Linked DNA regions of Homo sapiens: all the other regions are linked to region 1. The links are contacts of gene promoters, found by promoter capture Hi-C in human tissues and cell types (Jung and others, 2019). All regions are on one chromosome and are shown on one strand. Each heading gives the region's core, a stretch centred on a gene start or on the middle of the fragment in contact. The rest is flanking DNA. Distances are from core to core; before and after follow the strand shown.

Region 1 (2,700 bases), core at 94-2,593:
CCAGGCCTTGGCCCGGGCAATGTGGTACCAGCAGAGCAGAGCCTCGTCGATCCCGCTGTACTTGGACTCCCGCTTGCGCTTGCGCTCTCGGTTGGCTGTGCCGCTGCACCAGTCCGCCAGCAGCTTCTCCTTATTCTTGCAGATGCGCGAGATCTGGGGCTGGGAAACCTGGAAGCGCCGGGCCACCTCCGACTGGGACATCTTGGACTCATCCAGGAGTTCCAGCACCTGGATCTTCTCGGCCAGGGACAGGGCGTGAAGCTTCTTCTTGCTGCTCAGCTCCATGGCCTCTCCGGGGCACCTGTGCGGGGAGGAAAGATTGAGCGGGTAGAGTAATCTGAGGCCGGAAGAGCTAGGAAAGGAGCGCAGGAGGGAAAAGAGATTAGATGAGGACTTGCGCAGGCACCGGGTGAGACTGGACCCGCTGAAAGAGGAAGTGGCTAGGCCGAGTGGAAGCCGGCTGGCCCCGTCCCCAGGATGCCAGGGCAGAGCTGGGGAGGGGGCGTCTCTCCACTCAGAAGGACAGGGGAGTCTGGGCTGGGGTCTGGCCTCACTCGGGAAGAAGGATGAAAAGTGCAGGGGACAGCTGCAGAGATAACAAAGGCATACGGACGGGGGAGGGCCTGGGACTGGGGCCGAGGGGGCAGGTGTGGGGCTACGGGGCTGCGGGGGAGGAGCCCCCGGGAGGGAGTGGGAGGCGGCTTGGGCTGGATTCAGATGACGCCGCTGGGGGGTGGGAGGTGGGTGGATGCACACAGAGTTGAGGTGACAGGTGTACAGACGACAAAGGGGACAGAGGGTGTCTGAAGGAGCGAGGCTAATTTGGTGCCGGGTCCTGAGAGGGAGGCTAGGCGACGGTCAGTCCTGAGGGGAGCGAGAGGGCAGGGCCGAGGGCGCAGGTGCACGAGCGACAAAGGGCGGGAGGCCTGAGGAGGCTGCGGGCAGCGGAGGGGCGGGGTGTCCCCGCGGGGAGGGTGGTGGCCTGGGAGGGTCCCAGGGCGCGGGAACGAACGCCCGGACCCAGGCAGGCCGGCAGCCGGACTCCGTGCCCTGGCCGGTCACTCCCCCTCGACCCGGAGTATGTCGGCGGGGCGGCCCCAGGCGCCCGCCCGCCCGGCCTCCCGCTCCGCACCCACCTCAGGCGCTGGTCCCGCGGCTCCAGCCCCTGCCCCCAGCCCGGCTCCCGAGCCCCTGTCCGGGCGGCGACAGCAGAACAGGGGAGGGATGGGCGCCACGACCCCGAGGGCAGAGCGGACCGAGGGCCTGCGCGGACGGCGGGCGGGCGGGCGCGCGCACAGCAGAGTCCCGTGCGCGCCGCCCGCGCCGGGCTCTCTCCCGGCTGCGAAGTCCGCGGTGCGGCCCCTCTGCACCCACCCGCCGCAGCCCCGCCCCGGCCCAAGCAGATTGGTCCTCAGTGGCGCCCCGTCCCTCCCCCGGCTAAGTTTCATTGGACGTTGCGGAAGTGGCGGTTCGTCGAGCCCCTCTGGGGGCGGGGCTTCTAGCGCGGAGGGGCGGGAGGCGGAGCCAGGAACCAGCAGGACTCCCCTGGGCGCCTCCAGCAGCCGCCGACCCCGAGGGCCCGACGAGCCCTGTAGGTGGTGTGGTGACCGCCGAGCTGACTTGGCGTCCCAAAGCCTCCCTGGCCGTGACCCTAGACCGCATCGGCTTCTTCGTCTACCAAGCAGGGCTAACAGCCCTCACGGAATTGTTTTGGGAAAACGATGAAAGGAGAAAATGGATGCAAGCTTTAAGCCACACAAAAGCTGGTTACCATGGACAGCGCTGGCTCGAGTCTGTCGGCCACGGAAACACTGCATGCTTGGGCCAGTAATGATTTAGGACGAGTATTTTATTAGATTTGGTACTTTACAAGATTCAAGTTCTTAAACTCAAGATCTGGCATCGTTCCCTTCCCTGCTAACCTTCAGTCCCGAATTAAACGCAGACGTCTTGACCCGCAGCCCAGCTGCTCTCCAGCCTCGCTGCTCCCTCCGCTCACAGCTCCGCATCCTCTGCCTTCCTCACAGGCTTCCGTCCGCACCCCCGTCCTACCGGCTGACACTGTCCAACTCTCCAAGACCCATCTCAAATCCTACCTCCCGCAAACCCTTCCTAAATTTCCTCACCTAGGCCTGCTACAGCGTTCTTATTTTCCACATTTCTTTTCTGGCTCTCGGACTACTCAGCTGCCAAAGCGCATCCATTGCTGTACTCCCTCTCTGCCTGGCCTACTTCAGTGGAAAAGCATGAGGACGGGCTGCGCTCTGCTCCTCACACAATCCCCAGCCCAGAGCACCCTGCTTATTTATTGAACATAACAGTGCAGGCCGGCCTAGGCTTCCCATAGGCAAGGATGACTTTCAGAATGTTCTAGAAAAAAGGATACTTCAGGGGGCCCATAACTGCTTGATTCAAATCTTTCCTTTAAAAACATAAAAACAACAGTTGGACTTCTAAAACACACACTGAAGACATACGCGCTGCCACGTAAGCTCTCCACATGTTCACTTTGCCTTCAGGGAAACTGTGTGCACATCAACGTGCCCTGGGAAAGGCTGCAGGGCTGCACTGCGGGCAGTTCAGATCCTAGAGCACTTGCTCTGGCCTGGGAGCGCTGCAGGCAACTGAAGCCACACAGACCCTGCTCCTGCAAGAACTTTTGTGTGTGTCCCATGGTGATGTCATTAGTTTGCTTATTAA
Region 2 (2,769 bases), core at 139-2,638, 400 kb after region 1:
CTTCTTCCCCATGAGCACTGGGTCAGCTTACACAGTTTTACTTATGTCATGTTTCTTTAGCTCAGTGGAAGTGTTATTTTTGCCCTAGTAGAGTCTACTCTCTCCAGAGCTTTCCTTCATGTCTTACTTGTCTCTTGTCTGTTTACCTTCTAGAGGAGAAGAGATAGAAAATAAGGAAGTCATCACCCAGGAGCTGGAGGTAGGGAAAGAAGCATACGACTTCTGGAAAAGTTACTCTTTAAGGATGCATCCACATTCAGGTTTTAATTATTTCCTACAAACTGAGTCACAACCTCCACTTGATAACTTGGCTTCCTCCTGCTACATCTCCTTTGCAAAGGAACTTTATGTTTTTCCATGGGAATTTAAAGCCTGTATTCTTTCTCAGTTTTCCTAGTTGAAATGTCAGCACCTTTGAGGCTGAGAGCTTTTTGTTTTCACCAGTTTCCAGCCTTGGGCAGCTCTCTTTTGTTGCAGCTGGCATAGAGAAAGATTCCGGAGGACTGCCTCCTTCCAGGGCTCTGGGAAACCTCACCATCCCAACCACTGCCTGGTACTTGACGTTCAGGAAACTCGACTGTAAATACACAGACAAGGCTGCTGTGTCTTCATTTAAATTGGCAACATTTGCAATTGCCTTATTCCGACTTCATTTTCATTCCTTTCTACCCGGTTCCTCTAGCTTTAGGTTTTCCTACAGAAGAAGACTGAGCAGGTGATCAACTTTACAAATTGGTGGAAGCAATGGACAAGGAGTTAGAGTTCTGGGGGTTGGCCCTGGATTCCAGTCCTGGCATAGCCACCACTTAGCTGTGTGACCGTTGGCAAATCATATATCAACTTGGATCTTAATTGCCTCATTTGGAAAATGAGAGGTCTAAACTAGCTTTTCCTCTTCTGACTTCACAATTCGGTAATTTGTGACTATTGTGATTTCTTAAGACATATGCCTCCACATTTCAAAGCAATTAAATACACTTAAACACAAAACTCTGTGAAACCAAAACTGAGTCATACCCTTAAGAAGGTACCTCTTTGGCTAAGTGTTAAAAGATACATTAGGATCTTGCAGGACCCTCAAGGATATCATTATGAATAAGTTATTTTAACATAGGACCAAGAAAATGTTCTACCTGGTTTTTTGTTTGTTTGTTTGTTTGTTTTTTGAGATGGAGTTTCGCTCTGTCACCAGGCTGGAGTGCAGTGGCACGATTTTGGCTCACTGCAACCTCCATCTCCCAAGTTCCAGCGATTCTCCTGCCTCAGCCTCCCAAGCAGCTGGGACTACCGATGTGCACCACCACGCCCAGCTAATTTTTGTATTTTTAGTAGAGACGGGGTTTCATCATGTTGGCCAGGATGGTCTCGATCTCTTGACCTCGTGATCCACCAGCCTCGGCCTCCCAAAGTGTTGGGATTACAGGTGTGAGCCACTGCACCCGGCCATTCTACCTATTTTAATTATGAGCAGAGCAGGCTTTATTTCACTTTGCTTCAGTTAACCTGAGCAGTGAAAAGCTCACGGAAGCATAACAGAGAGGAGGGAACACAGACTTTAGAGCCAGTCAAACCTGGATTTGAAGTCTCCATACTAGGATAGTGTCTAGCTTCTAATTATAATAGCTAATATTTATTGAGTAATTACTATGAGAAGTGTTCTGCCATTCACAGTTTGACTTCGGGCAAAGTACCTACCCTCCCTGAGTCTGTTTCCTTACCTGTCAAATGAGGTTAATAAAGAAGGCCTGTTTCAAGACTGAGGATTAGAAATAGATGTCTGCAATGCCTGCCACACAGTAGCTCAATAATTAGTAGCTCGAGAGTATTTACATTCAACGTATGTCATATTTCCAAGGTGCATTTGATATGCATATGCATCTTTCTCTTATGCTCACTAGTTTGGGGTCAGATGTTATCATTCTCTTTTCTTCATTTAGAAAACACTTACTGAGGCTGGGCGCTGTGGCTCACACCTTTAATCCCAGCACTTTGGGAGGCCGAGGCAGGTGGATCACCTGAGGTCAGGAGTTTAAGACCAGACTGGCCAACATGGCGAAACCCCGTCTCTACTAAAAATACAAAAATTAGCTGGGTGTGGTGGCACGTACCTGTAGTCCAAGCTACTCAGGAGGCTGAGGCAGGAGAATTGCTTGAACCTGGGAGGCGGAGGTTGCAGTGAGCCGAGATCGCACCACTGCACTCCAGCCTGGGCAACAGAGTGAGACTCCATCTCAAAAACAAAAAAAGAAAACATTTACTGAGAAGCAGGCTAGCCTAGGGGTTAAGACTAGGAGCTCTGGAACCCTGCTGCCTTGGTTCAGATCTTGGCCCTGCTATTTCTAGTTATGTAACCTAGACTACATTTTTTCACCTCTCTTTGTCTGTTTCCCCGTCTGTAAAATGGGAATAACAGAATTGCCTCACAGGGTTTTTGTGAGAGTTAAATTAATTAATATGTATAAAAACACAGCCGGGCTCTGTGGCTCACGCCTGTAATCCCAGCACTTTGGGAGGTCAAGGCGGGTGGATCACCTGAGGTCAGGAGTTTGTGACCAGCCTGGCCAACATAGTGAAACCCCATCTCTACCAAAAATACAAAAGTTAGCCAGGTGTGGTGGCAGGCACCTGTAATCCCAGCTACTTGGGAGGCTGAGGCAGGAGAATCGCTTGAACCCTGGAGGCAGAGGTTGCAGTGAGCGGAGACCAAGCCATTGCACTCCAGACTCCAGCCTGGGCAAGAAGAACAAAACTTCATCTCAAAAAAAAAGG
Region 3 (2,705 bases), core at 127-2,626, 380 kb after region 1:
AAATAGCCCAGGCACAGTGGCTCACGCTTGTAATCCCAGCACTTTGGGAGGCCGAGGTGGGTGGATCACCAAAGGTCAGGAGTTAAAGACCAGCCTGGCCAACACGGCAAAACCCCATCTCTACTAAAAATACAAAAAAAATTAGATAGGCCTGGTGGTGGGTACCTGTAATCTCAGCTACTTGGGAGGCTGAGGCAGGAGAGTTGCTTGAACCCAGGAGGCAGAGGGTGCAGTGAGCCGAGATCGTGCCATTGCACTCCAGCCTGGGCGACACTGGAACGACACTCTGTCTCAAAAATAAATAAATTAATTAAAATAAATAAAGGGACCAGGAGAGGGTAAAGTAATCCTGCCTCCAAGTCAAAGGAGTGGGACAGTAGTCAAGACCAAGGACATCCCTTGAAGGGTCAGGTGGTCAGATGGTTGTGATAAAGCACAGGATTCATGGTCCCTTGAGAGTGTCCCCGCCAGAGCTTGATTCTCAGAAGCACTTGAACTATACCCACAGCCACATGTAAAGAATGTTTCATCCAAAGTTTATCTGAGTATGGTCCCTTCTACCAGCAGCAGCAGCACCTGGGAACTTACTTGTTCAAAAGGCAAATTCTCAGACCCCCAGATCTACTAAATCAGAAACTTGGGGGCTCGGTCCAGCAATCTACAAGCCCTCTAGGTAGTTCTGATGCATGCCCACGTTTGAGAACTAATACTGGTGTAATCTGACAGGACTCCAGAGCTGGATTGCCCAGTAAACTTCCTTCATTTGAAAATTCATCAACATTCATCAAACATGGGTTAGCACCTTCTATGTGCTAGATCCCTTGTCAAGCCACATAAGAAGCCCAAAGTGGCCGGGTGCGGTGCCTCACACCTGTAATCCCACTACTTCAGGAGGCCAAGGCGGGCAGATCACGAGGTCAGGAGATCGAGACCATCCTGGCTAACACGGTGAAACCCCGTCTCTACTAAAAATACAAAAAATTAGCCAGGTGTCGTGGTGGATGCCTGTAGTCCCAGCTACTCAGGAGGCTGAGGCAGGAGAATGGCGTGAACCCGGGAGGCAGAGCTTGCAGTGAGCCGTGATCGCACCGCTGCACTCCAGCCTGGGCGACAGAGGGAGACTCCGTCTCAAAAAAAAAAAAAAAAAAAAAAAGCCCAAAGTGGTGTAAATTGCAGTTCCCACCCTCCAAGCAGACTGGCCAGTCAATACAAGGAAAGGCAAAAAAAAAAAAGGGACCTGATCTTCTGGCTAGGGGGATTACAGAGGGCTTCTCAGAGGAGGTGGCATTTGGGCTGGGCCTTGAAGGATAAGTAAGAATAAGCAGGCAGAAAATGAAAATGAAAATGAAAATGAAGAAGCCAGGTTCCAGGAACTTTTTTTTTGCGGGGGGACTCGATGTGTCCCCCAGGCCAGACTGCAGTGGCATGATCACAGCTCACTGCAGCCTTGGACCCCTGGGCTCAAGCAATCCTCCCCCTCAGCCTCCTGAGTAACTGGGAATACAGGCATGCACTTCTATGTCTGGCTATTTTTTTTATTTTTTTGTGGAGATGGAGTCTTACTATGTTGCCCAGGCGAGTCTTGAACTCCTGGCCTCAAGAGATCCTCCTGTCTCCCAACGTGTTGGGATTACAGGTGTGAACCATCACGCCTGGCCTCAGGAACATATTTCTGAGACCAAAATCCAACTTTTAAGAGCATCTTATTGCTGTAGGGATAAATTCAAGTACCTCAAGTACCTCAGCACAAGCTTCTTCGTAGTCTAGCCCCTGTGTCTCCCCTCAACCATATCTCCTGCCACTCCACACCTGTTTCTTTCTTTTTCTTTTCTTTCTTTCTTTCTTTTTTTTTTTTTTTTTTTGAGATGAAGTTTCACATTTTTTGCCCGGGCTGGAGTGCAATGGTGCAGTCTCAGCTCACTGCAACCTCCACCCCCCGATTTCAAGTGATTCTCCTGCCTCAGCCTCCAAGTAGCTGGGATTAAGGTGCATGCCACCTTGCCTGGCTGATTTTGTGGTGTGTTTTTTGTTTGTTTTAGTAGAGACAGGGTCTCACCATGTTGGCCAGGCTGGTCTCAAACTCCTGACCTCAGGTGATCTGCCCGCCTCCGCCTCCCAAAGTGCTGGGATTACAGGTGTGAGCCACTGCACACGGCCACCTGTTTCTTATAGTTAAGTAACACTGAACTTCTTGGAGACAGACACACACACAGCATGCTATTTTTTGTTGCCAGGCTTTTGCCATGTGCTGGCTGGCTTGACAGATCTGGTATATGTGCTTTGAATTCTGTTGTCATCTGCGAGCGTTGCTGTTGAAATGTTCCAGTATGGCAGGCTAAGTCTGAATCCATACGAGTCTCTTTAGCACTGTAAATTGTTTCTGAGTTAGGGTATAGGTTTATTAATTCTCAAGAATCCCAAGGGCCCATAAAAAGGTGCTCAACGTTATTAGTCGTTAGGGAAATGCAAATTAAATCTATAACTAGATACCACTACACATCTATTAGGATGGCAAAAAATTTTTAACTGAAAATATCAAGTGCTGGCAAGGATGCAGAGCAATTCTCACACTCTGCTGACGGGAGTGCAGAATGGTACAGCCACTCTGGAAAACTGCTTCGCAGTTTCTTTCTTTCTTTTTTTTTTTTTGAGATGGAGCCTCACTCTGTAGCCCAGGCTGGAGTGCACTGGAGTGATCTCAGCTC
Region 4 (2,863 bases), core at 76-2,575, 510 kb after region 1:
TGAACCCAGGAGGTTGAGGCTGTGGTGAGCTACGATTGCACCACTGCACTCCAGCCTAGGGGACAGAGTGAGACCCTGTCTCAAAAAAGAGAAAGAAGTGTTGTCTAGGCCGGGTGTAGTTGCCCATGTCTGTAATCCCAGAACTCCGGGAGGCCAAGGTGGGAGGATTACCTGAGCCCAGGAGTTCGAGACCAGCCTGGTCAACATAACAATAACCCTTGACTCCAAAAAGTAAAATAAAAAATCAGCTGGGTGTGGTGGCATCTGCCTGTAATCCCAGCTACTCAAGAGGCTGAGGCAGGAGCCTAAGAGGTCAAGGCTGCAGTGAGTTATGATTGCATCACTGCACTCCAGCATGGGTGACAGAGAGACCCTGTCTCAAAAAAAAAAAAAAAAAAGTGTTGTCTGAAGCCACCAATATGTCCCACCCTTTGATCTCTCCTCATGGTGCCTGGTCCATCCCAGCTGGACAGAAATCAGAAATACCACTGGACAGAGCCAGCCCCTCCCCTCCCCAACCTCCTCCAGCCTATCTCAGACCTCTCCTTGCCCTTCACGTTCCAGGTCAGACCTCAGGCCCTGCTCCTACTGAAGCTTAAAACGCCTGTGGTGTTGGTACCAGCCCAGCTCCACCTCCACCCCAGGGTCTAACTTAAGAGCCACCTTGTCCTCAGCCCCTCAATTCGCCTTCCTCCTTCCCAAGCCTCAGTGTGTCCATCTGCCAAATGGGCGTGACCATCCCTACCCCAACTTCCTGTCTCCCACATCAACTCTAATGATACAATCAAAGTAAGATTCAGAAACTTTTTTTTGGGCGGGGGCGGGGGGGCGATGGGTGCCAAGCGCGGGCAAACCATGGAGAGAGCGAACTACAATTCCCATCCGGCTCCGGGGCCGCGGGCGTCCCTAGCCCCTCTCTCTTAGCCAAGGGCAAGGCGGCTGCGACCCAGGGGGCGAGAGAAGTTGCAGTGCTCCGCGCCTCCTGGGTCAGGGCCCAGGGAGGGCCCAGGTAAGTCTGGGTCTGGGGCCGCGCGGGGATCTGGGGAGTCTTTCCGACCCCGCAGAACCCCACCGCGCCCCGCGCAGAAGTCAGTTGTTCTCCCCGGCCCGCCCCCGCACTTCCTGGCCGGGAGTTGGGCCCGCCCCCGCGCGCCTCCGCCCCCACCTTCACCTCTAGCCGCGGCTCCCATTGGCCGGCGCGCACCTGCCCGTCCGTCGGGGGGCGGGGCGCGGCGCCCAGGTGAGGGCGCGCTGGCGGCGGCGGAGGAAGGTGACAGCGGGGAGGGCGGGAGAGGGGCGGGGGAGGACGCGCGGACAGAGCCTCAGACGGTTGGGCGGACGGACGGCCCGACAGGCGGGCATGCGGGCGGCCAGACTGTAGCCGAGCAGCGAGGCTCCGGCCGCAGCCATGGAGCGGCGGCTGCGCGCGCTGGAGCAGCTGGCGCGGGGCGAGGCCGGCGGCTGCCCGGGGCTCGACGGCCTCCTAGATCTGCTGCTGGCGCTGCACCACGAGCTCAGCAGCGGCCCCCTACGGCGGGAGCGCAGCGTGGCGCAGTTCCTGAGCTGGGGTGAGTGGCGGGGCGGCACGGAGCGGGGGCGGGCCTAGGGATATCGCGCCGAGACCCCCGCACCCGCAGACTTTCCCGCAGGGACCCGCACCCCCACGGGCTTCCCTCGCAGACTCCCTGCAGTGGCCCTGACGCGTACCACCGGACCCCCGCGGCCCGCACACTCGCCTGCACACCTCACCCTCACTCCAATTCTCACACACGCTCTCTCCCTCTCACAGACCCCGACACATGCACACACATACCAACTTGTGCTCAGGTATCGACCGCAGACGCATGTACCCAGTGCACCGCCTAGAGTCCCTTACAGATTTCCTTGCTTACAGGCCACACCTGACGCAGGACACACACAGACCCTCATGCATGTCACCCACTGATACACGGGCTCTGTTTCTCCTTCCTCTCGGATGCATTGAGACACACAACTCATGGAGAGACCCAGGGAGCGCTGCAGACCACCCCGACCGCATTGGCACTGCAAAACACACAGATCTGTAGGTATCGCACACTTGCAGACCTTCCCCCCACCAACACACACACCCCCAGCTCCCTGGGTACAAGACCACTGCAGCCTGGACTCAGGAACCGATCTCCAACCCTTGGCCTGTGCAGGCTGCTGGCCAAGCTCCTTGGGGGCTGTGGCGCCGGGGCCGGGGAGGGGGGCCTAGCTGGAGATGGGTCTGTACCTTTCCTGGTAGACTCATCTGAGTCATTGGGAGTGGCTGGCCCGGGGTGACCCTGAACCCACTGTGGGCACTGGCGCCAGCTGGAGGGTTCCCTGGTCACACCCTGCCGGGCCATGGGGAAAAGGCACGGGGGCCTGGCCAGGGCGGGGTGAGGCAGGTGTTTGCCCAGTGGGCAACTAGCGTTCCTGGCACTCCTGAGCTCTGGGAAGGCACAAGGCCTGGGGTAGAGGGGGAGGCTGCCACCTAGATGTGCCAGGGAGTTGTCCCCTAGCCCCAACCCTTCCATCCAGGGCGAGGCAGTCAGAGGCCCCTGCCTCTGTGCCTGTCTCCCTGGTATGCCTCCGTGCTATGCCTGTCTGCCTGTGTTGTTGTCACCCCCCCCATGACACCCACACACGTGTGTGTGTTTGCACACACATGTGTGCTCCTCCCTGACTGCCTCCAGCACCTCTGCCTGGGACCCCGGCATGGGGGCCCTCTGTTGACAATCTCCCAAGGTAACTCAAAGGGCTGTGACTCATTCCTCTCCTGCTTGTCTCTACTTGTCCCTGCTCCTGCCCGGAGCCCCCATGCCCTGTGGGAGGCCAGAGGATTAGGCAGCCTGTCCAG

Evidence for each region. Contacts are between HindIII fragments. The study calls those that stand out against the background at their distance.
Region 2: a contact is called between a fragment that was not itself captured here and the fragment with the promoter of TIGD3 in region 1, in 1 of the 25 tissues and cell types used here (dorsolateral prefrontal cortex).
Region 3: a contact is called between a fragment that was not itself captured here and the fragment with the promoter of TIGD3 in region 1, in 1 of the 25 tissues and cell types used here (heart right ventricle).
Region 4: the fragment with the promoter of CDC42BPG here is called in contact with the fragment with the promoter of TIGD3 in region 1 in 1 of the 25 tissues and cell types used here (pancreas).

The regions. Positions count from the first base shown.
Region 1 is chr11:65,353,394-65,356,093 of GRCh38, reverse strand. TIGD3 (tigger transposable element derived 3) reads right to left here and starts at 1,343. Exons shown (of 2, transcript NM_145719.3): 1 at 1,137-1,343; 2 at 1-301. The coding sequence starts at 285. It overlaps DPF2 (double PHD fingers 2), which reads right to left. Exons shown (of 11, transcript NM_006268.5): 11 at 1,832-2,700. RefSeq lists silencers at 636-825, 886-1,055, 1,066-1,125, 1,146-1,465, 1,556-1,615. The HindIII fragment of the contact is 4,951 bases long and covers 1-2,700 here.
Region 2 is chr11:64,952,187-64,954,955 of GRCh38, reverse strand. It overlaps MAJIN (membrane anchored junction protein), which reads left to right. Exons shown (of 11, transcript NM_001037225.3): 4 at 154-199. Among named protein-coding and RNA genes, the nearest start is that of GPHA2, 18 kb to the right of the region's middle. The HindIII fragment of the contact is 9,200 bases long and covers 1-2,769 here.
Region 3 is chr11:64,973,400-64,976,104 of GRCh38, reverse strand. No RefSeq gene overlaps it. Among named protein-coding and RNA genes, the nearest start is that of MAJIN, 2.6 kb to the right of the region's middle. The HindIII fragment of the contact is 2,434 bases long and covers 160-2,593 here.
Region 4 is chr11:64,843,115-64,845,977 of GRCh38, reverse strand. CDC42BPG (CDC42 binding protein kinase gamma) reads left to right here and starts at 1,325. Exons shown (of 37, transcript NM_017525.3): 1 at 1,325-1,568. The coding sequence starts at 1,409. RefSeq lists silencers at 1,146-1,495, 1,506-1,555, 1,586-1,635 and enhancers at 1,850-2,662, 2,687-2,863. The HindIII fragment of the contact is 4,484 bases long and covers 1-1,958 here.